Regions from separate parts of the Homo sapiens genome. Here region 1 is linked to region 2. Evidence: promoter capture Hi-C in 16 types of primary human blood cells and fetal thymus (Javierre and others, 2016). All regions are on one chromosome and are shown on one strand. The core of a region is centred on a gene start or on the middle of the fragment in contact, and the rest is flanking DNA. Distances in the headings are between cores, read along the strand shown.

Region 1 (5,439 bases), core at 1,552-4,051, 1.0 Mb before region 2:
GACATGTCTATAAGTGAGATAATCTCTAAGTTAGATGAAATGAAAATAAGGCTCATTCCTGTAATCTCAGCACTTTGGGAGGCCAGGGTAGGTGGATCACCTGAGGTCAGGATTACAAGACCAGCCTGGCCAACATGGTGAAACCCCTTCTCTACTAAAAAATACAAAGATTAGCCAGGCACTGTGGCACATGCCTGTAATCCCAGCTACTTGGGAAGCTGAGGCAGGAGAATTGCCTGAACCCGGGAGGCAGAGGTTACAGTGAGCTGAGATAGTGCAACTGCACTCCAGCCTGGGTGACAGAGTGAGACTCTCCAAAAAAAAAAAAAAAAAAGACCCAGAATTGTGTGAAATATGCAATTTGTACAAGAACGAATCAGACATATTTAGTTATAGATGCCGTTAATAGCTGAAAGAATAGAAAGATCAACTGAGCTTCCCAGTGAAAAGGTGGACAAGAGACTTTGTCCCTCATTGTAAGAGTAAAAAAAGTGCAGATGAAAGAGAGGTGGAGAACTGAAGCTATTATTGCATCCAATCTTAGGTTCTACTTCTTGATGACTAGAAGGAACCACAATTTCCCTTTCCTTTGAATCTTGACTTTGGCAAATTGAATGTAGAACTGACAATATGACAGGTCTGGGCCTAGATATTAGAGATCTGTGATTGACATGAGAATTGTGTCCAGAATCTAGTTAGAAGATGAGACACATAGAATAGGGCCAGTGGTCCCAGTTAAGGCCATCTTAAATTAGCTACCAGCCAGCCAACCACCAGAGTGAGCCCAGCTATGACCAGAAGAATCACTAAGCAGACCTATGATCTTGTGAGCATAGTAGATGTTTGTTTTAAGCCACTAAGTTTTGGAGTGTTTTTACATTAGTGTGGCAATAGAACCCCTTACTATATGGGTTCCTACATGGATCTTGCACATGACAAAGCCTGTTTCCTGCTACAAACCTAGCAGTCCAAATGTAGTCTCAACGTTCCCTTATCCTCTTGGGAGCTGGGCATGACCTAGAATGAGTTAATCAAATGCTTACCTATGAGACTTTGAGTGCTGCTGCATCTATTAATGAAAGTGTCAAGTCTCCAGTGTCTTTGTTTCTTGGTGTTGTTTGCGCCAGACTGACTGATGACAGCATTGCCAGCTGCATGAGATCCTAGCACTGATGCCTTCAGTTGATTCTTGGGCTGTGTTGTCAACTATCCCCCTAACATTTTCTGAGCTTGATTCCCTGTTCCTGATAATTGCATGAGCTACCCAATATCCTCTCACCTCTCATTACATTTATTTCTGTTTACAAGAGCCAGGGGGCTTTTTGTTTTAAAATCGAATGTCATTCATTTGAAACTCTTTCAAACTGATTAGCCAGGGATCTGCCGGTATGGGCAGTCCAAACTGCCACATTAGTGTAGAGAAGTTACAGGGAAAGCAAATGGGGGAGAATTTTAGGAGTGAGAATAGTATAAATGTGCAACTATTTGCCTTTCAATCATTAGATTATTAGCTCAGCACATCTCAATTACCATATTAGTATAATCAAATTAGAAAGTATCATCTAGTATGGACCTTGGCACTGGACATCAATTGTATGAAAACTGGAGTTTCACCAACCTTTTACATTAGGAGTGACCAGCATTAAAGCTTTGAATTGTGCTCATAACCTATTACATTCTTAGATTTGTGGTTTGTTAAGTTTGACCGCTCTCACACTGTCTTGTAAAGAAGTTCAGAATCAAATATTAGCAGTGTGGCTAAATGCCTTCTATTGCCCCTGAGTGACGTGAACTTGGATCTCAACTCAGGAAATCTCGAATCAAATTGGATAACTACCAACTTTCCTATCCCTGGGCAGCCAGTTGTCTCCCAATTAGTTTGAGGCTCAACAGAACTAGGACCCTGGATAAGTTTCAGCTGGCATCTGTTCAGTCTTTAAATTTCTCAAATCCATCATGTCTTATTCCATCATTCATGCCCTCATTTCTCATCCAGGTCATTACAGTAACTCAAGCGAATATTGAAGTCAGAGAGACCAAATTTATAACAGGGGATCAGCCTTCTGTGATGTGATCCTGCTTACCTCCCATTGCAACTTCTACCAATCCCAGGGTAGGAAAAAAGATATTTGCCTGAATATATCAGTGACTTTCAGAACACCGAGCCCCCGCATGTGCTGTTCTCTATGATTTGAATGCCCTCCAAGATAAACGTCTACTCACCCTTCAAATCTCAACTTAAGCATCACTCACTGTGAATCTCCAAGTAGAGTTGATAATTCGCCTCTTGCAGCTGTATCTATTTAACCCCATTCTCCATCACAGGGCATTGATTTCCTTCTTTTGTTCAGAGTTATTTTCTATCCCTATGGCATAGGCTACTATACTAGAGTACTCAAATTATATCTATGGACTACCTTGGAGGAGCAAAACAAAAATCCTGCAGTCCCAGGAGGTCAACTCTGTCCCCTGCACACAAAAATTGTGTTCATTCTGCCAAGAAAAATGTCCCTGACATTTAAGAGCCATACTTAGAAAAAGAATGACAAAAACATGACAATTACTGCCTAGGCTTTCAACCATTACTCAAGTAGTCTATCCATCACACTAATAAAGGAAGAGCCCTTTCTTCCTTGTTAACCATGTAAGCTGAACAGCAGCTGACAGGGCATCATGGAAATTTTATGATCCCTGATGACAGTTATGGTTTGAATCTGGCCTTAGATAGATTTCTTGCCCTCTGGATCCCACTTCCTTGAATTAAAAGGATTGTACTGCACTCCTATGAATCTTATGGAAGTACTTCTAAAACTGTGTAAGGATAGATGTATATGCCTGTTCATTTGAACAGCTACAAGAACTAAAATTTGGGTACAACAAACTATATGGGAAGGGTTAAAAATTATACAAAGTCCATAACCATCCAATTCTATGCAACATTTGAAAATATTGAACCATTTGTCCTTAGAAATCTGTTCATGATCTATTCTGTGGTCATGGAAACATGCTGAACATGTAATATAATCGAAATGAACATTATGAAAACATGTATCTACACAAGTATGTACATACTTGTGCAAAATAATGATTAGGGAAACACTCACCAAAGCCAAAGTTTGTAATATATGATGTAAGTTGGTGTGAGGGAGAGACATAAAAAGAATTAACAAGTAGCTGTTATGATTGAAATCCTCTTAAGAACACATTTAAAAACATAAACTTTAAACCTATATTGAAAGAATTATTTCTTATGAGTGACGTGGACAGGTTCTTACACCTACGGATCTCACATCCTGAAGTAGGCTATTGCCCCCAGGAAGGTAGGAGGATAACACAGGAGGTTAACTTCCAACAGAACTGAAGACAAATATTGCCAAGGTATATATGCAGTCCAACTACATGTACTCTCTAGTCGATTTTTTCCTTGAAGGCCAATGACTCTTCAGATTGCAACTATCCTCTTCTTGGATAGTGGTTTATTCTCTGATATTTCTTTGATATTTCCAAGTACTACCAGACGATGGTAGAAAAGGATAAATAGGCAACTGAAAGCTGTGGCAAACAGAAGGATCAAACTACTGAAGTACTGGCCTCTGGCAACTTCAAGATCTATTCTCAGCATGACAGAAATAAGTGATCAGAACTTGTAGAGCAGTTCTCAAACTTTTTGGTCTTGGGACCCTTTTATGCTATTAAAATGAAAAGCCCAATTAGCTTTTGGGTGGATTTTATCTATTGACATACACAATACTAAGATTTTTTTAAAGTTTGAGAACATTTAACTTAAAAATGTTAATCTCATCAAAATGTCATTTTATGAAAAAATTTCTTAAACAAAAAATAGAATAGCAACATTGTTTTATGTATTTGCAAGTACCTGGTGGATTAGAAGACAGTTGAATTCCCATACCTATTTCTGTATTCCATCTGTTGCAATGTTACTTTGAAGCTTATAAATAAAATCTAACCTCACAAGGAAATATTTTTAATGCCTTTTTAGGTAACTGTGGATATTTGTTTAATGCTATACCAAAACTCAACTGGTAAAGATGAGTTGCAATTTGGAATTAGTAGCTGTATCAATGAACATCATGCTCTCTTCAAGTCCATTGATTTATTTTTTAAATGGATTTATCTCATGTGATTTTGTACTATCATACACTGGTCATCTGGAAAGTTTGTTGGTGGAGTTATGCAGACCTTCTACATGTTGGTATTTTCATTATAAAATAGCAAAAATTCACATTCTTAATATGACTATTCTCATTACAAAAGTCTTTAATCAGAAGTTGTCAAGCTCAAGGAGGCAGATTCCAAAAATCTAAATTTTACCTGAACACAAATTTTTACCAGTGCTAACCAATACCATCAGCTGGTTTTCTTGAAGTGACTAGCTCACTTTATTCATTTAAGAAAATGTCGGTCCAAAATCCAAGTCTGAGCCACAGTAATTTGAGTAGTGAGCTGAACTACATTCTTCATGGAATACCATTTCTACTTGGAAGAATGACAATTGCACAAGTTCTTGGCTTTAAGACAGCCATCATACTTTCATAAGCAAAGAGCTTTATGTGTACTTCCCATTTCATCATGCAGAACATCAGACATGTACTTAAAAGATGCAATAAAATTAATTTTAACTGCTCCATCATGGACATTCTCTGGCTTTTCAAATTTTAATTTTACTGCAAGGTCATGGAGGTGAAGAACACAATGATTACTAGGCACCCTTTAGAGCCACCTCCTTATTTGTACTAAGTTTTACCGATGCTCTGCAGGAGCATAGTGAACTGAGGGATGTTGGATTTGTCAGGGTCCTCCAGAGACAGAAACAATAGGAAACAAATATATGGAAGGGGATTAACTAGGGGTACTGACTCATGTGTTAATGGAGGCTGAAAAGTCCCATATCAGGCTATCTGCAAACTGGAGAACTTGGGATGCTGGGAACACTGCTCTGTTCAAGTCCAAAAGCCTCAGAACCAGGGAAGCTAAGGGTGTGACTCTCAGTCTGAGGCTAAAGGCCTGAGAACTGGGGGTGGGGTGGGGGTGGTCACTGGTGTATGTCCCTGGTCCAAACACCAGAGCACTTGAAGTTCTGACATCTAAGAGCAGGAGGTGGAGGAGGAGGATGTCCCAACTCTGGGAGAGAGACTTTTTTCCTCTGCCTTTTTGTTCTATCTGGGTCCCTAGCCAATTGATTGGTACCTACCCACCTTGAGGGTGGATCTTCCCCACTCACTCACTCAGTCCACCAACCTACATGACAGTCTCCTCTGGAAACACCTCACCCACACACAGAAATAATGCTTTACCAGCTCTCCAGGTGTTCCTTAATCAAGTCAAGCTGACATCTAAAATTAGCCATCACAAGTCCACTTCTTGTCAACTTGGCACCCATTTGCATCTCCTTACCTAGCATAATGCAACTATCCTACA
Region 2 (6,264 bases), core at 2,538-5,037:
AGCCATAAGTTTGTAGTAATTTGTTACAGCAGCAATAGGAAACTAATACATGCCCCACATGGAGGTCTGCCTGGCATCCTCATTGGTTCTGTTTGGTCTTTTGCTTATTAATTCAGTAAAAGTTATTGAGTGCCTACTCTGTGCCAGGCACTGTGCTAGATCCTGAAAATGCAAAATGAGTAAGACACAGCCATGCCCTTTCATATACTCAACAAACATTTGTGTACCTAGGCTCTGATTTAGATGTGATAGAGATGAAAAAAAAAAAATAGTCCCTGCCCTAAAAAGGCTCACAGACTTCTGAGAAGGCAATCAACGAAATAAAATTTTATGATTCAATGTAATACATGCATAATATGGAAGTGTAGAAGGGAGACCACGGAACTCAACTTGGGTGACATCAGGAAAACCTCAGAGAGAAGAAGAAATGGAGCTTTAAAGAGTTTGCCAGACAGACAACATGGGGGAAGATGTTCAAGAGCTTCGGAACAGTACGACTCTTGGAATGCAACAAGTGCAAATGAGGAACATTTAAACAGAGTTTAAAATTTTTTACTTCATTTTAGTTACCTTTAATTGAAATAGAAATAGTCACATGTGACTGTGGGCCACCATATTGGACAGAGCACATTGGACCAGATTGGATCCTTGAAAGAAAGGAGATTGCCTTCTCTTTTCCCTCTTCCCTGCTTCTTACTGACTGGAAAGCAGATGTGGTGGCAAGTCACTTGGACCATGAAGATGAGATATCACTCCAGGATGGAAGTAAGAAAATAGAAGGAACTTGGGTCCCTGACATCATAGAGCCATCTTTTGGTTTGGCTTATGCTCAGACTGTTATGTCAGAGAAATAAATTCCTATATTATTGTTATTTTGGATCTTTTTACAGCAGCCAGACCTGTCTCCTACTACACATGTCTGCTAGAATAATGAAAAGCAATAATCATAATCTTTGCTCCTTCTGTGTACTAGACACTAACCTAAATGCATGGTTGCATTTAAACACAACCCATTAAAGTAGATAGTAGGATAGCCCCATTCTGCAGGTAAAATGGAGGCTTAGAGAAGCTGGCTCATTAGTGGGAGGATTAGACCTTTCTGTCAGCAAACTGTCAGATACTGTAGTGTATAGATACAGAATATTTTATCATTAAGGGACAGGCAAATTGTGTACAACTAGACTTTTTAAATGCCGAGACAATATTTATGTTCATTGCAGAATTATCTGTTATTCAGCAACCATGCCCTCTTTCTTCCTGCAAAAAGAACCTCAAATCATTCAAACAGTGGGCAATGATTCCTTGACTTCAGGAAGAGTAGGTCCTTATTGTAGAAACCTGTGAAAGAAATCCTAATCAGTCTGTATTAATCACTGGCATTTCTTACCAGTGATTGGCCTAAAGACAGGCACAGGGTACAGTTCTGGTTAATGAGATGAAAGCAAAGGTCTAATGAGAAACAAAAAGCCAAAAACCTGTCTGGAATGAAGATGCAATCAATGCTGGAGTTGTGGGATCCATCATGCAACCATGAAGACAAAGCCAACATCATAAGAATGGCAGAGTGGAGAGATAAGTGGGGTCCTTGATCACATTATTGAGCTGCTGCTCCCCTTGCCTGGAAAATCTACCTCCAAACTTCTTGTAATATGAGAAAAACAAACCCCAATTTACTGAGAGCCACTATAAACTCGGTTTTGAATTTTTTTCACAGGGGGAAGCCTTCCTAACTGACACACACATATGCACATCCTTTTGTTTTACTTAAGAAAGTTAAGGAAAAGTCATACAACTTATAATGGTGTCCCGTGCACTCGTGGCTTATCACTGTGAAACCCAGTTCTCCCTGGCTCATCCACAGTAAGAATTACTTCAGTAATTTGAAAAATAACCTTTTGGAATTATTTCTGGGGATATGAAAAGTAACCTGAACCAATAACAGAGCTCAAATGCAATCCATATTACCTTCTTCCCACCCTCAAATTAAAAATTTTTTCTCCCTTAATTACAAATGTTTCTTGATGAATGCACATGTGTGAAAAGCCATTATAATCTATTGTATCAGACTATTAAATACTCTAAAAATTTAAAAGCAATATTATAACAAGTAATGTTAATCTGTAGTTTAAGAGAAAAATAGAAATATTAACCCCAGTACATAAATATTTCATTGGTATGACTACCCACACCAAAAGATAAATGAAGAATTGAGGTATGCTGCAGGATGACTAAGGTTTAAAAAGGGATTCAAATATACAGATAAATAGGAGAGGCAGAAATGTTTTGATCTTGAGTTATGCTGAAAGCTGATTTAATTCTCCTTTCTGAGTGTGGGGAAAAAAAGCAACACATGGTATTTATGCAATCTATTATCCAGAATTATAAGCAAACTTAAAATATTTTTAGATGCTATTTTCAGTTGAAGAGAGAAAAAGCAGATATTTTTGAATGCACAAATATATACCATGCCACCATCTTAACCATGTTATTAATCTTTAATCTGATTTATAACTGAAAAGCTCATGTGGTAACTGATTGTATGCGATTTCATTCACAAAAAGAGAAGATTATCCATCAAACAGGCATATTTTTCTTCGGATTTCATAGAATAAATGAGCTAGACACATTTTTCTTTCAAATCCCAGGCTATCCAAAATATTTCTAGATAATCAGAAAGGCATGAAACAGCAAATTAAGTTATATTAAGGCAGTTCTCATTATTTTGCATTTTTGACAAATCTGACAAGTTGAAAAAAACAATTTGAATAAAGGCAATATTGGAAAAAGAAACATACCTTAGAGATGATTAATGGTTCTCCGTGCTCCAGGCCACCCTTTAGAGTAAAACCCCAGGGAGCTCCTCCCTCCAGGAATGCCTCCAGATAAATGTACCTTCCCTTGGTGGCCGTGTTAGAGTTTAATGTGGCACTAGGCTTGTGGAAGTCTTCAGTGGTCCTCATCATGCCAAACACATGATCCCTCAAGTTAAATTTAAAATGCCTGAAGCAAACTCAGGCAAGCAGTGCTTCTACAGCACAAGTTGTCCCATCCTTCAGGACACACAATGGCCAAAAGAGAGGTTTGGAGAAGCAAATTCTTCCATACGTAAAATGTTCTTCCAAGCTGAACTCCAAGATGCTGAACCAGAAGGAATTTTCACTTCAACATTTCTGAATGTAAATCCTCCTCCAGGAATTCTGGGTTCTCACTGAAGCCCCCAAGTGGTATACATCTCTACTCCGTTCGTCAAAACTTCCTTCAGTGGCGCTCTGAAGATTGCTTTTCTGAGCTTTTATTTCACACATACACACACTAAAACCATTTCTGCCTATTTTACAGAGAAAATTAAAAGCATCTTACAATATAGTAAGAAAATCACAAATACTCAAAGGAATACCTCATTTTTGATTGATTATCAACCCTTTCTTCCTCTCGGAGTGAAATTTACCATTACAATAGCCTCCTCCCTCCCCAGAAGTAGCTTAAAAAGAAAGAAAGCACTTACTATGCTTCGGCTCACTTCAGAATTTTCTAACTTGTCCCGAAGAGACAGAGAAGCTGTGCTAAAACTTTTTACTTCTTTTTTTCAACAATCAGTTCATAGTTTGTTTCTTAGGAGAGAAAAAAACTTTTGCAGGATGTAGAGAAAATGAAAAAGCACGGTAAATTAATCCTCAATGGAAAAAATATGAAGGAGGCAGCTCAGTTCTTTTCTTTGGTATTTTCAGTGATGATCAGCCACTGCTGCGGCCGCCACAGCCACTTGCCTCCTCTTGAGAGAAAGAGTAAGGAAGTTAGAGGAACATGGATTAAGGCAAAGTGAGGCATTGCAACCTTTCTGCACAGTAAGCACTGCCATGCAGAATTCAGCTCACCACAAAGACCTGACAATTCAAACAGTCTTACAGTTAATAACACGTAGGAAGTTAAAAATACTATACAGATGGCTAATTGCCAAGGGATAGAAAATAGTTCCTAGAATAGCCCCGCCTCGTACCAATTAAAGGAGAATTTCAGGGAGTGAGACATAGGCATTTGTGTTTTTAAAAACCCTCCAGGCAATTCTGCTATGCAGCCAAGTTTGAGAAGCAATGCCTAAGTGATTTGGGTAAACGTTTAAGTACATGTCAAGGTGGTGGCACAAGGGCTTTTTTTTTTTCGTTAGAAGAAAATACTACCAGTGTAATATATGAAATGGGACTTTCCAATCAAAGTTCTGCTTGTTTGACTCAATAAAAACAGGAGGTGGGTTTTTTTTTCTAGGTTTTCATTGTTATCTACTCCAAGATTGTTATCCACTCTTTAAATGAAAAGAAATCTACAATGCCTTGTGGGTAAGTACTAGGTACTCGGGAAAGAATGTTGTTCTGATTTCATGTTACCAGTGTCATTTTGTAATAATGTTATATACAAATTTAACATTCATGCTTTGTATTAAAAATTTGAACAGTAGAAGATAACCATATCTAACCCAGAAGCCTCAGCTATTTAGTTATTGGAACAGATTAGAATTACTTCCAGGTAATATATGTACTAAAACTTTTTTCTGTTTAAAAGTATGGGATAATGAGAATTAAGTTGAAAACTGAAGTTAAAAACTACTGTGGGGCTTGATAACAATTATTTTGGTGTTTGTACTTATAATTAATGAAAGGCTGATATGGAAAGGCAGGTATATGATATCAAACTACACGATATTTAATTTACAACACTGGACAGGTATTGTTTGATTTTCAATGGTAACTTCACTTGAAGGGCTCAAAGACAAAAAAAAAAAAAAAAAAGTAAAACCTTATGTAATGGTAGTATGTGAATGGAAACATAAGGAAACCTAAGGTGTACCAAATGAAAGTATGTGGTAAAAATTGGCTGATTCTTAAGGGTAATTTACGCAATTTCTATTGTGGTTTTCTTTTACAGCTTAATTTGTAAGTTAGAATAAATGGAGAAACATTAGCTTTTCTTTCATTTCAAAGAACATATGTATTTTAAATAAAAGTCCTAGGTAAATGAACAGCTTTCTTTCTGAAAAAATTAATTTATGAGGCTCTTATTATGTTACTCCTAATACATTTTGTAAAAACTGGGATTTTACAGAATCCACATTTAATATTAAAAGTAACATAGCTATACAAAATTTCAGTTAGGAGGCATAAGCTCAAGAGATCTATTGTACAGCATGATGACCATAGTTATAACAATGTATTGTATATTTGGAAATTGCTAAGATTAGATTTTAAGTGCTCTCACCACAAAAAAAATTAGTATGTGAGGTAATAGGTTAATTCCTTGATTTAGCCATTTTACAATGCATACTTATATCAAAACATCATGTGGTACACCATAAGTATATATAATTTTTAGTTGTCAATTTAAAAAATAATAAACAAAAAAAGTAATGAAGCTAAAGGCAAAGGAAATAAGGAAAAGATAATATGAACCCAGTGCTTGCAGACTGATGAAATCTCCATTTTAGATTATCACCAAAAATATTGAAGAAACAAACATAGAACCAAAATTGATATGTAATCTGAAAAAAAAATGTAAAACTTCATTTTGTGGACCTTCACTATAGCAGTTGATAGACCAGGTTTGGAAGAACTTTTTTCCTCCATCTTCTGTTGATCAGATTCAAAGAATGTTAAAGCTGCAAGAGACAATCCTCCCACACCCTTGATTTTAGAGGTAAGGACACAGAGGCCACCAGAAGGTTAAATGATCTGACCAGAGTAATCCTGCAAGCAACACAGGCAGGCATGAAATTTAAATCTTCAGACGTTTAGGAATGAAATCCTAGCTTAAGTCAGGTGTTCTGCATAGTTTACGGTGAAAAGACAACTTTCTTTTGGCATAGCACTGCTAATTCGTAAGAAGAACTTCTGTTAGGATATGTGATTTGGATGCAAACTCTTAATTACAGAATGCAATCAGACTCCTCCCCAAGAAGAGAAAGGCAACTCTATTGTCTCAAGGTGCTGACAGTGGAAAGAAAGGTTGGGATTCTAACTGAGAACAGCATAGGACTCAGGCTTTCTAATAGAGGACTTCTTTTATGCCCCATTCATCATCTTTCTAGGGAACCACTTCTTCCTCGATCCTGTGGTGCTGGTGGGCTGCCCCTGTCCCCGGCTCCAGGGTGGACGTAATGACCCAGGAATCAACCAACCCCTGGCTCAAATGATTGATATGTGGATGGGCATGAGACTTAAGTGTGACCAATGTTATAACTAGAAATTTTACTAGTGCTGTCAAAAAATGGCATTT

Evidence for each region. The method cuts DNA at HindIII sites, captures the fragments that hold promoters and counts their contacts. A CHiCAGO score of 5 or more calls a contact.
Region 1: a contact is called between a fragment that was not itself captured here and the fragment with the promoter of SHROOM3 in region 2, in 1 of 17 cell types (non-activated CD4 T cells). The highest score is 5.3, in non-activated CD4 T cells.

What each region holds. Positions count from the first base shown.
Region 1 is chr4:77,443,217-77,448,655 of GRCh38, reverse strand. No RefSeq gene overlaps it. Among named protein-coding and RNA genes, the nearest start is that of CXCL13, 160 kb to the left of the region's middle. The HindIII fragment of the contact is 2,301 bases long and covers 1,651-3,951 here.
Region 2 is chr4:76,432,752-76,439,015 of GRCh38, reverse strand. SHROOM3 (shroom family member 3) reads right to left here and starts at 3,787. Exons shown (of 11, transcript NM_020859.4): 1 at 2,796-3,787. The coding sequence starts at 2,963. The HindIII fragment of the contact is 11,529 bases long and covers 1-6,264 here.